Linked DNA regions of Homo sapiens: all the other regions are linked to region 1. The links are contacts of gene promoters, found by promoter capture Hi-C in human tissues and cell types (Jung and others, 2019). All regions are on one chromosome and are shown on one strand. The core of a region is centred on a gene start or on the middle of the fragment in contact, and the rest is flanking DNA. Distances in the headings are between cores, read along the strand shown.

Region 1 (3,283 bases), core at 771-3,270:
ATGAACCCAGGCTATCAGAGTGGCTAGGCTGTGATTGGAGGGGGTTCACTCCTAAAACAAAACCTGCCCAGCAAGATGCCTGACTTTCCCCCAGGAGGGATCTATTTAAATTGCCCCGTCTGGCCGGGTGCAGTGGCTCATGCCTGTAATCCCAGTACTTTGGGAGGTCGAGGTGGGTGGATCACCAGAGGTCAGGAGTTGGAAACTAGCCTGGCCAACATGGTGAAACCCCATCTCTACTAAAAATACAAAAATTAGCCAGGCGTGGTGGTGCGCGCCTGTAATCCCAGCTACTCGGGAGGCTGAGGCAGGAGAATCGCTTGAACCCGTGAGGTGGAGGTTGCAGTGAGCCAAGATCGCACCACTATAAAAAAAAAAAATCTATTGTGTGAATATGCTACACATATTGACCTATGAACCTTGATGGACGTGGGAGTTGTTTCTAGGTCTTTGCTGTTGAGGTTTGAGAACAGGGGCTGCGGCAAACAATCTCATCCACACCTCCTGGAGCACATGCCTAAGGTTTTCTCACGGTGTAGACCTAGGAGGGAAACCGCTGGATCACCTGTGAATTCCACTTTCGGGGTTGCCTGCTCTTTGACCTCATCTCCCACCCCTCTCTACTTTGACTACCAAGCTCCTGTCACACTGGCCTCCCTTTCCTTGAACAAGCCAAGCCCATTGCAGCCTCCAGAACTTCGCACCTGCTGTCGCCTCCCTTCAGAACGCGTTTCTTTCAGGGATTCCCGTTGCTGGCTTTTACTTATCCTCAGGACTCCATCAGATATGACCTCCTCAGCCCAAATGTCACTTTCTCTGTCCCCCTCATCTAAATGACTTACTCCATTCCTACCCCAATCACCCATTTTCATTTTCTTTTTTTTTTTTTGACACGGAGTCTCGCTGTCGCCCAGGCTGGAGTGCAGGGGCGCCATCTTGGCTCACTGCAGGCTCTGCCCCCTGGGGTTCACGCCATTCTCTTGCCTCACTCTCCTGAGTAGCTGGGGCTACAGGCGCCCGCCACCTCGCCCGGCTAACATTTTGTATTTTTAGTGGAGACGGGGTTTCACCGTGTTAGCCAGGATGGTGTCGATCTCCTGACCTCGTGATCCACCCACCTCAGCCTCCCAAAGTGCTGGGATTACAGGCGTGAGCCACCGTGCCCGCCCCATTTTCTTTTCTGTTTTGTTTGTTTGTTTGTTTGTTTTTGAGACAGTCTTGCTCTGTGGCCCAGGCAGGAGTGCAGTGGCATGATCTCGGCTCACTGCAACCTCTGCCTCCCTGCCTCCTGGGTTCAAATGATTCTCCTCCCTCAGGCTCACAGTAGCTAGGATTACCGGTGCTGGGATTATAGGTGCCCACCACCACGCCTGCTAATTTTTGTAGTTTTAGTAGAGATAAGGTTTCACCATGTTTCAAACTTCTGACCTCAATTGATCCTCCCACCTTGGCCTCCCAAAGCGCTGGGATCACAGGTGTGAGCCACCGCTCCTGGCCTAGACTCAAACTCTAGAAGGGCTGAGACCATGTATTTTTCACAGCTGTATCCCCTAGAACAGTGCCTGATACATAGAGAAAAAGTGCTCAACAAAAAATTTTTTGTGGAGGTGGGTACTAATATAAATCTCATGTTAGAGAGCAGAAAACTGAGACTCAGAGAGGTTAAGCCATGCGCCCAAAGTCGCAGAGCTTGGAGGTGGCAGAACCAGGATTGAACCGTGGTCTGCCCGGTTCCAGTGCCCCTGTTCTTTCCGAAAGAGGAGGTCTTGTCCTGACATGAGCTTTTCTTCCTGAACTCTTGTTATCAGTTGGCCACTCCACACCACCTGTGCGGCCACCTGTTGGAGGGAACGCTAGGTCCTTCCTTTGGCTGTCACTCCTCCATCTGCAGTGAGTGAGAACTGTGGCCTTGGACCATGGGAGACCTGCATTTCCACCACCTGTTCTGGGAGTGGGGCCCAGTCAGCCCCCTTTGCTTACCTTCTGCCCTATATTAGAGCCCCAGGTTCTGTGCCCTTTTCCTATCATCGCAAAACTCATGATGCTCCGGCTGCTCAGTTCCCTCCTCCTTGTGGCCGTTGGTAAGACCCCAACCTGTGTGTGTGCTCCCTGGGCTGCCCTAGATTAGGAATCCTTGAAATCTACCACTTGCTCTAAGTCCCATGACACCCTATGCCTGGTTCCACAGGAGGGGGTCTCAGCTTGTACCCGGGGGCATGACTGTGGGGGCTTTCAGCTTATGATGGAGCAGGAGAGTGGAGGGGAAGCCGTGGATGGAGAAAGACCCCAAAGGGCTGTGGTGGAAGTCCTTGATGGGGGCAGTAAACAAAGTCAAACGGTTAAGAGTTTGGGCTGTGTGGTTGGACTTCTTGGGTTGGAATTTCCACTGTTCTGCTTACCACTCCAACTCTCCTCTCACACTCCCCCTACCTGGCTCCATATTCTATGCTCTGGCCTTTTCCTGGTCTCTCTGCCATATTACATTCCAGCTCAGGGCCACCTCTTCCAAGCAGCCTCCCTTGACTGACAATAATGGTAACAGATAACATTGATTGAGTGCTTACTATGCCAGGCAGAATGTTTAGGGTTTTCCTTATACTTTCTCATGTAATTCTCACAACAGCCTCAGGAGATCAGTACTATCATTTTCCCCATTTTACCGACCCTCAAGGAAGTAAAGTAGCTTATCATAGAACAAAAGGCAGAGCTGCACTTAATGTTTTTATTTTTTGCTTTTTTTTTTGTTGAGATGGGGTCTTGCTTTGTTGCCCAGACTGGTCTCAAAATCTTGGCCTCAAGCAATCCTACCACCTTAGCCTCCTGAGTAGCTGAGATTATAGGCACATGCCACCATACCTGGCTACTTTATTTTATTGTACTTTATTTTTCTAGAGATGAGGTCTTGCTATGTTGCCCAGGCTGGTCTCAAACTCCCGGGCTCAAGCGATCCTCCCGCCTCGGCCTCTCAAAGCACTAGGATTACAGGTGTGAACCACCACACACAGCCCAGAGCTGCACTTTGAACCCAGGAAGTCCTTCTTTAAAGCCTCCACTCTGTATGACAATAGCTCTCACTTTTTGAGGGCTCATTGAGGGCCAGGCATTGTTCTAAGTGTATCAAGCTCTTCAATCCTCCCAATGAAGGAGGCCACATTTGAATCTCTATCCCTGGAGTCTTGGGATTCTGGAAAGCCCTGCTCTAGTTTAAATGTTCACTATTCATATGTGGTTACTGAGGTCCAGAGGGCGAAAGGGGCTTGCATGGGGTCACACAGCCACTTGA
Region 2 (3,013 bases), core at 226-2,725, 250 kb before region 1:
TGGGAATGTTGTTGAGTATAAAAGATAAGCTATGTGAAGCATTTTGAGCTTTTTGGAAGAAAAGAGATATGGAAAAGTTAATTATACATTTACGTAAACTTAATATATAAAAGAGGAGACCTTGGCTGGGCATGGTGGCTCACGCCTGTAATCCTAGCACTTTGGGAGGCCGAGGCGGGCAGATCACCTGAGGTCCAGAGTTTGAGACCAGCCTGACCAACAGGGAGAAACCCCGTCTGTACTAAAAATACAAAAAATTAGCTGGGCATGGCGGCACACGACTGTAATACCAGCTATTCGGGAGGCTGAGGCAGGAGAATCACTTGAACCCGGGACGCGGAGGTTGTGGTGAGCTGACATTGCACCAGTGCGCTCTAGCCTGGGCAACAAGAGTGAAATTCCATCTCAAAAAAAAAAAAGAGGAGACTTTAAGATGCAGTATATGTAACACAGCTGCAGCACTTTACAGTATATCATGGTATGGCTAATTACATTCAAAATGCCTCCCGACTTTATTTGCCATTTATCAAGCTTAATCTGCCAGGGATAGAGTACACTGGGTATCTGGGGAATGCAAAGATAAATGATCCCTTTCTGAAAGCAAGATCAAAGTCTTAGCATACTCTCATCTTTTCCCAAGGACAGTCAATTAGATTAAAATGGTAAGCAATATGAAGGCTATCAAAGGAGAAAAAACAGGATTGTGATAAAGAGCAACATTCAAGAATAAGTCACTAGGCATCCTAGTTTCCCCAGCAGCTGGGGAGGAGTGGACAGACAGCAGTATCTGTTATTGCTAACTGAAAGAAAACACCCTAAGAATCCTGGCCCTCACAATGAAAGGAATCTAGGAAAGCTCAAAATGCACAAAGCCCTCCTTGCCAGGGGATGTCTGCAGGAATTCAAAGCCTAGGGTGACTGTGGCCCTGACTGTCCAGCAACAATGTGGCTCAAAGGCAAGACAACATTTTCCAATCTCACAGAAAACTTCCAAGGAAAGCTTGTTGTTTTGGTTTTTGAATTGTTCAATATAAATTTAATGTAAGATACAATGATTAGAAAAACTATGTACGGTTTTATAGTAAGAGGAGGAAGACAGAAAGCAGAGAACAGGCCTATAATTCTAATCTAATACCATGCTTACTACTAACAGCAAGTTCTCCAGATTTCACTTTAGTGCGCTGTGGGCTCCATGAAGGAAGAGTGACTATGGTCACAGAAGTCTGTCTTTCTTTCCATTTTCAGTCTCTATCATCATAAAGAGTTGCACTGACTCTGCCAAGAGCTTGCCTGAGAATACAAGTGGAGCACAAGTCTCATAGTTAAGGCAGATTCTGTTTGTGGCAAAGTTTTTACACTACAGATGTTTCTGCACTAGAAAAAGACTCTAAGTAGGCCCCTCAAATATATTCCCTAGTATTTGTGATTCAGTAAACTACAAGCATTGCTTTCCAAAGGCCATGGACATAATCAACTCCAAATGAGGGAGAACTCTCCTATTATCAAGCTGGAGATACCGGACTATATGAAACCTCAGCATTTGATGAGGAAAGCAAAATATTAAAATATTTACCACAGGGAAATATACATTTTGGTTCAAAGTTCTTTAAAAAGAAAAAAAAAAACCTGGATTTTGAACATGACACATTTTCTTTGGAAAGTTATAAAGTCTAGAACAATCACAGCATCAAAAACATCTGAAACACTTTACCTAGAGATAATTTAAGTATATTTCAATGGAAATAAAAAGGGCCAAAAGCACGTTCCTACTGAGGCTTAGATTTTAGGGTAAGTGATCTTTGTTTTTTTAAATATGTTCACACACAAAAATAAGATTTAGAAAATGCATAACAAAAGACTTCTCTTGCCAGCACAAAACCATGCTCATTAACTTTGAGATTCTACATAATTTTACAGCGTGGACTGTCTACAATATAAGTTTACTGCAAATGGAAAAGAATTATATAGCTCATAATTGGTAAAAGTATAAATAACACAGAGAAATACTCTAAGAACATAAGCATATTCTAAGAACATAAGGTTCCTATATGCTGAATGAAAACAGCCAAAGGAAGCACAGTGCTAACTTGACACATAACATCTTTGAACTCTATAGTTCTAAAGAGTGGTTCAAATGAGTATTTCACTTTAGACCCAGTTAAGTCCCTTTCTCTTGCCCAGTGGACACAGGAAACCGTGAATAAAGTTTGGAAAATAGATTTCTAGGTCCCAACACCTTTGAACAAAGACCTATAAATTTAGAGATCTGAATCATGGGTTCATTTCCAAATCATTTCCAGTTACATTAAGGTCAGTTTAATTATTTAGGGTAATCCCAACCCTTGGACAGAGTTAAAGTAACAGATTACAAAGAAGGGTCAGAATTGAATTAAAATTTAGTTAAAATATATTCTTATAGACTTGGCAATTTTTGTTTACATTTTGCTTAAAGTTATACTAGTAATGGAAAATTAAGATATTAAAAAGACAAACCACAAGTACAATTATGCTTAAGTATTTATTTTCTAAAGTAAGGACTAAATTGTCTCTCTTCCTTAAGTAGGAATTAGGCTTGGGGAATTCATGTCTTTAAAATGACAAAGATAACTTAATACAAATGGCACATCAGCCTTTAAAAAGGCTTAATTTGGTTTCATTTTGAGACATCAGGTAAACCTGAATAAACATATACAGAAAAGGGATAAGCTGGATTATGTGGGATATTTCTAAGAAATCAGGGGTCAGCAGAAAGCTTTTCTACTCTTAGCATAATATTTGGTATTAAACTTCAAGTTAATCTAATAGTATCAAAAAAACTGTATTCATATAATAGAATGTCTGTTAAAACTGTTAGGTCACAAAGTATGCAAAGAAACAGAACAGGCAAGTTGCTTTTTCCATAGTAATCCAATCGGATTTTTCTTAAACAAGTTAATATCTCACAAAATATAAATATCTACAATACTCATGGATGCAGAGTGCTGACCTAAATGTTATAATTTATTAACAGCTT
Region 3 (3,106 bases), core at 74-2,573, 210 kb before region 1:
GGCATTGTTCTTTTTAAATTTTCTTAAATTAATTGCTTGCTAGGTATCACTGAATACGTCTTCAGTCGGCTAGAACACCACCACAGCAGAATGCCAAGTGCAGGTGACCTGTGATAGACTACCACCCCAGGCCAAACCTATGGCTCCCGAGCCTCTATGGCCACACTTCAGGTGGGAACCAAAAAGCCAATGGCGGTGCTTTGCATTAAAAGGGCTTGGGCTTTCTAAACTTCTAAATTGTTGCTAAGCCTTTCATACATAGCCCAATATGGGGGGGCGGGGTTGTGTTTGTTCTCTTACTTGGAGAGGTAAAGAATCTACTTAACAAACACAAATAACAGCTGGGCGCAGTGGCTCACGCCTATAATCCCAACACTTTGAGAGGCCAAGGCGGGCAGATCACCTGAGGTCGGGAGTTCGAGACCAGCCTGGCTGACATAGAGAAACCTCGTCTCTACTAAAAATACAAAAAATTAGCCAGGCGTGGTGGCACATGCCTGTAATTCCAGCTACTCAGGAGGCTGAGGCAGGAGAATCACTTGAACCCAGGAGGCAGAGGGTGCGGTGAGCCGAGATCATGCCATTGCACTCCAACCCTGGTAACTAGAGAGAAACTCTGTTTCAAGAAAAGGAAGGGAGGAAGGAAGGGAGGGAGGGAGGGAGGACGGATGGACAGGCAGACACAAATCACAGTTCTAATTATAAGCTGTTACTTCTAAAGCCAGCCTTAGCAGCACAGCAGAATGCCAACCACAGAGGGCTGTAGCCTCTCCCATTCGTCATTCTCCAATGCCCCTAACTCCATTTTATCCCTCCTTAGGAGTAGGCCCCAGGTATCAAGGATCATTTATCATCATGTGTGTGCCAATTTCCTTACAGTAGAAAAACAGTTATGTGTACCTGTGTCTATCAACTATCAAAACAGATCAAGGAGGTTGAGTGTTTCACAAAATATGAGACAGTGTCTGGGAGCAGTGGTTCACACCTGTAGTCCCAGCAATTTGCAAGGCTGAGGCAGGCAGATCACTTGAGGCCAGGAATTTGACACCAGCCAGGCCAATATGGCGAAAACCCATCTTTACTAAAAATACAAAAAATTAGCCAGGTGTGGTGGCATATGCCTATAGTCCCAGCTGCTCAGGAAGCTGAGACAAGAGAATTGCTTGAACCCGGGAGGCAGAGGCTGCAGTGAGCTGAGATCACGCCACTGCACTCCAGCCTGGGCATCAGAGAGAGACCCTGTCTCCAAAAAAAAAAAAAAGCCTGGGCGCAGTGGGAGGCCGAGGCTGGTGGATTATGAGGTCAGGAGTTCAAGACCAACCTGGCCAAGATGGTGAAACCCTGACTCTACTAAAAATACAAAACTTAGCCAGGTATGGTGGCAGGTGCTTGTAATCCCAGCTACTCTGGAGGCTGAGGCAGAGAACTGCTTGAACCCGGGAGGCGGAGGTTGCAGTGAGCCGAGATCGTGATTGTGCCACCCCACACCAGCCTGGGTGACAGAGTGGCACTCCGTCTCAAAAAAAAAAAAAAAAAAAGACTTGATTACATAGGCATGACTGATTGAATCACTGGCCACTGGAGATTAGCAACCTTTAGTCCTCTCCCCTCCCAGAGGTCAGACTAAAAAGTTCTAAACCTCTCATCGTGGTTGGTTCTCCTGGCAACCAGCCCATGTGGAGGCTACCAAGAGCTCCCAGCCATCAGTCATTTCATTAGCATACAAAAAGACACTTAGTCACTTCAGAGATCCCAAAGGTTTTAGGAGCTGTGCCAGAAGTAGTACAAAGACTAAGCATATATTTCTTATAAATCAAAATATCATATAACCCTGCAGGAAAAATAACTAAAGAAAACATCTCAAAAATGTTAAATGACAACAATGTTTTTGTTTCAATAATTCTACTTCTGGGCACAGGTCCACCAAACTTGAGTAATAACAGCACAATGGCAATGCCATAGTACGATAAGGAATTCAGATAATTTAATGGGTACTTTGTTCCAAGACTGCACTGTATGAGAACACCAACGTGTTAGGCAGAGGATAGGTTCCAAAAGGTTTGGTTATGACGTACTAAGCAGACATCTGCTGTGATTTTAGGCCAGGGACACACTTTGGCAGCAGTAAACAGGACAGACCGGGCGGGGTGTGGTAGCTCATGCCTGTAATCCCAGCATTTTGGGAGGTCGAGGCAGGCGGATCACTTGAGGTCAGGAGTTTGAGACCAGCCTGGCTAATATGGTGAAACCCCGTTCTCTACTAAAAATTCAAAAATGTGCCAGGCATGGTGGCACGCGCCTGTAGTCCCACCTACTCCAGAGACTGAGGCAGAAGGCTCGCTTGAACCCGGGAGGCGGAGGTTGCAGTGAGCCGAGATCACGCCACTGCACTCAAGTCTGGGTGACAGAGCGAGACTCTGTCAAAAAAAAAAAGGGGGGGACAGCCCGAAGCTGAACAAGGCATGAGACGTTCCGAAGCTAAACAAGGTGTGAGACATAACTAACAATTTTTCTAGTGGAAGATGAGGTCTTAAAAAGCCAATTTAGGCCGGGTGTGGTGGCTCACACCCGTAATCCTAGCCCTTTGGAAGGCTGAGGTGAGTGGATCACCTGAGACAGGAGAATAGTTTGAAACTACGAAGCCGAGGTTGCAGTTAGCCGAGATCCCATGGTGCTCCGGCCTGGGCAACAAAGTGAGACTCCATCTCCAAAAAAAAAAAAAAAAAAAAAAAAAAAAAAAAAAAAGGCAATTCAGTGGGAATAGGAATGGAGGAAGTTCAAGCATATTGATGGGAAGAAATCAATAGAACTGGGGACTAATAAGATGCAACAGGCAAGAAAGGAAAGGAGAAATCTGGAATGATGCCCAAAATTGTAACAAAAAGATTTTCCAGGCTGGATGTGGTGGCTCACACCCGTAGTCCCAGCACTCTGAAAGGCCGAGGCGGGAGGATCACTTGAGGCTAGGAGTTCAAGACCAGCCTGGCCAACGTGGCAAAACCCTACTAAACTTCTACTAAGAATATAAAAATTAGCTGGGTTTGGTGGCGAATGCTTGTAATCCCAGCTACTCCAGAGGCTGTCATGAGAATCACTTGAACCCGGG
Region 4 (3,101 bases), core at 579-3,078, 230 kb before region 1:
AGTCCAAAACTGAAGTTGAAAACAGTTTCCTTGTTCCACAGAGGTACAAATTTTAAAGTACAGTACTGAAGAGTATCATACATTTGAAAGCTTACATATTTATTTAGCACATTCCTCCCCAACTTTCCCAATCATGTCTCTTAAAGGTTTTTACAGCTTGCTTCCATTGTAAGCTGCCTCCAGAAATGTCTCTTAAAGGTTTTTACAGCTTGCTTCCATTGTAAGCTGCCTCTAGAAATTTTTTATTTTTTTGGAAAGAGATAGAGTTTATAAAATAATTTCTACATTAAAAATTTCAGGTTGGGGGCAGTGGCTCACGCCTGTAATCCCAGCACTTAGGGAGGTCAAGGCAGGTGTCCCACTTGAGGCCAGGAGTTTGAGACCAGCTTGGCCAACACGGCAAAACCCTAAAGTGCAAAAATTAGCTGGGCTCCCTTGTAGCCTCCCAGCTACAAGGGAGGCTGAGGTTGCAGTGAGCTGAGATCGTGTCACTGCACTCCAGCCTAGGCAACAGAGCAAGACTCCGTCTCAAAAATACATACATACATACATAATATTTTATAAGTACTACAATCAACCTTAAAGGGAAGTAAAACAGTCCTTTCTCTAGTAAGACTCAACCTGTTTGGTAGGATGAAGACTACCAAAAGAAAAAAGCAGTACTTATTTCTTGTTAAAACAATGATAGCATCCTAGGGCGTATCAGTAGTTGCAGATATGAAAAATGAAAGCATAAATACTGGAATTATGCCACCTAATGTTTCTGGGACAACGTTTTTAAAAAAGTGAATAGAGGCGCTTGGAGACTGTTAGTTTTGAGAAATGATAAATAATAGTATTGAAACTAAGGTGGCAAGTGCGGGTTCAGAAACAGTAAAATACCTTTTTCATTTTTTACAAATTATTTTTATACCCTTAATTCTGTACATATCGATGAACCACCTCATCTTTGCTATATGCTTACTCACACAAAATGGAATTAACATCTTGGCTCTCCTAAAAAAGTCTTTGTTCCCAGACAGAGGTTCCCAGAGAGAGATTAGCAAACAAAAATTGGCAATTGACTGCTATTCTATATTAATCACAAGCCGATCACAAGTTAGAGTCTCTGAGCATTATAATGTTTACTCCTCAGTAAAAATATTACCTTTATGTTCCACATAAGGCTCCATATCCAAAATTTCTGAGAAGCCAATGTAGGTATTCAGCTTTTTCTTATGTCCAGTTTGCCTAACCAAGAGGAAAGCTGATTATATTTACATTTAAAACAATCATAATACAATATATAAGCTCTATTAGCTATTTTAATAAACTCAACAGTAGCTAGCTTTCACTTCACAATCTTCCTCCAAAACATGTACAATTAGAAGTAAACAGAATATTGTTTTATAGCTGGACAAATATGAGGTTAAAAAATGTGAATGCGAAGTGCTGATTCCAAACACAGCTTATTTTCCAGAAGTTTCAACTTAATCACAAAACAGATTATCCTGCTTTACAGAAGACATGCACATGTGCAAACATTGCCTTGATTTTAATTATAAAATGAAAAATACATTCCCATGGCGGGGGTGTAATGAGTACAAAATTTATTCTATTTAAAATAAAGGACAATACAGAAGGTCAGGGTAATTCAATTACTTGCAGTTTTTCTTTCTTTTTTTTTTTCCAAGACAGAGTTTCACTCTTGTTGCCCAGGCCGGAGTACAATGGTGCAATCTCGGCTCACTGCAACCTCCGCCTCCTGGGTTCAAGTGATTCTCCTGCCTCAGCCTCCCCAGTAGCTGGGATTACAGGCGCCTGCCACCACGCCCGGCTAATTTTTGTATTTTTAGTAGAGACGGGGTTTCACCATGTTGGCCCGGCTGATCTCGAACTCCTGACCTCAGGTGATCCACCTGCCTCAGCCTCCCAAAGTGCTGGGATTACAGGCGTGAGCCACCGCACCCGGCCCTTGCAGTTTTTAATACTTTCTTAGAATAAAAAAAGTAAGGATTTTTTACTTTTCTAGTTATCATTTATATATGGTTGGCTTCTTTAAAATTTTTTATGATAAAATCATGAAATATCGACATTTCAAAATGACAGCCTCCATCTATAACTTTCATCCTCAAATCTAGAGTTTCAAATTACAACCATTTTATCATCTCATCTATGGTAAAGTCTGTACATAGTAGACCACAATGAACAACAAACACTAATATTTGCACACATTTACCTGTCAAAGACAAAACGCATTAGCTGCAAGTTCAGAGTGCAAGGAAGGCTAAGAAGTCGAATCTTTCTTGTTGCATTCTGTTTGCTTTGACAGTTCTCGCAAAAATAGCGATTGTCTCCTTCTAATTTTTCTTCCTGATCAAGAATAAGACATATTAATTTTAAAAAGAAGATGGGTTTAAAACAAGTGATAAAACCCTTGATGTAAAGTATAATTTCATTTCAGTTAATAGCTCTCACTTAAGCTACTTAAAAACAGCTACTATAAATAATGGACACACAAAAGTAATGGGAACTGTTCAGCAGTGACATTATCAATTTGAATACACTGATATTTAAAACTGATGTGCCTATTTCCCAAATGTATGATATTAAAAATACTTGTTTTAGGTTCTTTGTCCTGGTAATCCCACTTCTGGGAATTCTAAAGTAAGTTTTAAAAAGAAATGTCACATGTATTTTGATGCAACATTCATTTAAAGACAGCAAAAAGGCTGGGCAACATGGCTCACGCCTGTAATCCCAACACTTTGGGAGGCCGAGGTGGGTGGATCACTTGAGGCCAGGAATTCGAGACCGGCCTGGCTGCCCAGGTGAAACCCCGTCTCTACTAAAAATACAAAAATTAGCCAGGCATGGTGGTACACACCTGTGGTCCCAACTACTCGGGAGGCTGAGACACAAGAATCACTTGAACCCGGGAGGTGGAGCTTGCAGTAAGCTGAGATCACACCTCTGCACTCCAGCCTGGAAACAAAGCGAGACTCTGTCTCAAAAAAATGAAGAAAAAAACAGGAGGGAGGAGGGTAGTGTAAAAACGATATATGGGCACCAGAATACAAAATTATATACATATTTGTTTAAAATTACTGAAACATATTCAT

Evidence for each region. The method cuts DNA at HindIII sites, captures the fragments that hold promoters and counts their contacts. A contact is called where the count stands out against the background at its distance.
Region 2: a contact is called between a fragment that was not itself captured here and the fragment with the promoter of CELA3B in region 1, in 2 of the 25 tissues and cell types used here (H1 embryonic stem cells and mesendoderm cells).
Region 3: a contact is called between a fragment that was not itself captured here and the fragment with the promoter of CELA3B in region 1, in 1 of the 25 tissues and cell types used here (bladder).
Region 4: a fragment that was not itself captured here is called in contact with the fragment with the promoter of CELA3B in region 1 in 2 of the 25 tissues and cell types used here (H1 embryonic stem cells and dorsolateral prefrontal cortex).

Annotation. Positions count from the first base shown.
Region 1 is chr1:21,975,002-21,978,284 of GRCh38, forward strand. It overlaps CELA3B (chymotrypsin like elastase 3B), which reads left to right and starts at 2,021. Exons shown (of 8, transcript NM_007352.4): 1 at 2,021-2,081. The coding sequence starts at 2,039. The HindIII fragment of the contact is 22,565 bases long and covers 1-3,283 here.
Region 2 is chr1:21,725,347-21,728,359 of GRCh38, forward strand. All of the region lies in intron 11 of USP48 (ubiquitin specific peptidase 48), which reads right to left. Among named protein-coding and RNA genes, the nearest start is that of USP48, 56 kb to the right of the region's middle. The HindIII fragment of the contact is 3,775 bases long and covers 1-3,013 here.
Region 3 is chr1:21,763,193-21,766,298 of GRCh38, forward strand. All of the region lies in intron 1 of USP48 (ubiquitin specific peptidase 48), which reads right to left. Among named protein-coding and RNA genes, the nearest start is that of USP48, 18 kb to the right of the region's middle. The HindIII fragment of the contact is 8,017 bases long and covers 1-3,106 here.
Region 4 is chr1:21,745,920-21,749,020 of GRCh38, forward strand. It overlaps USP48 (ubiquitin specific peptidase 48), which reads right to left. Exons shown (of 27, transcript NM_032236.8): 7 at 2,219-2,352; 8 at 1,148-1,230. Among named protein-coding and RNA genes, the nearest start is that of USP48, 36 kb to the right of the region's middle. The HindIII fragment of the contact is 4,676 bases long and covers 1-3,101 here.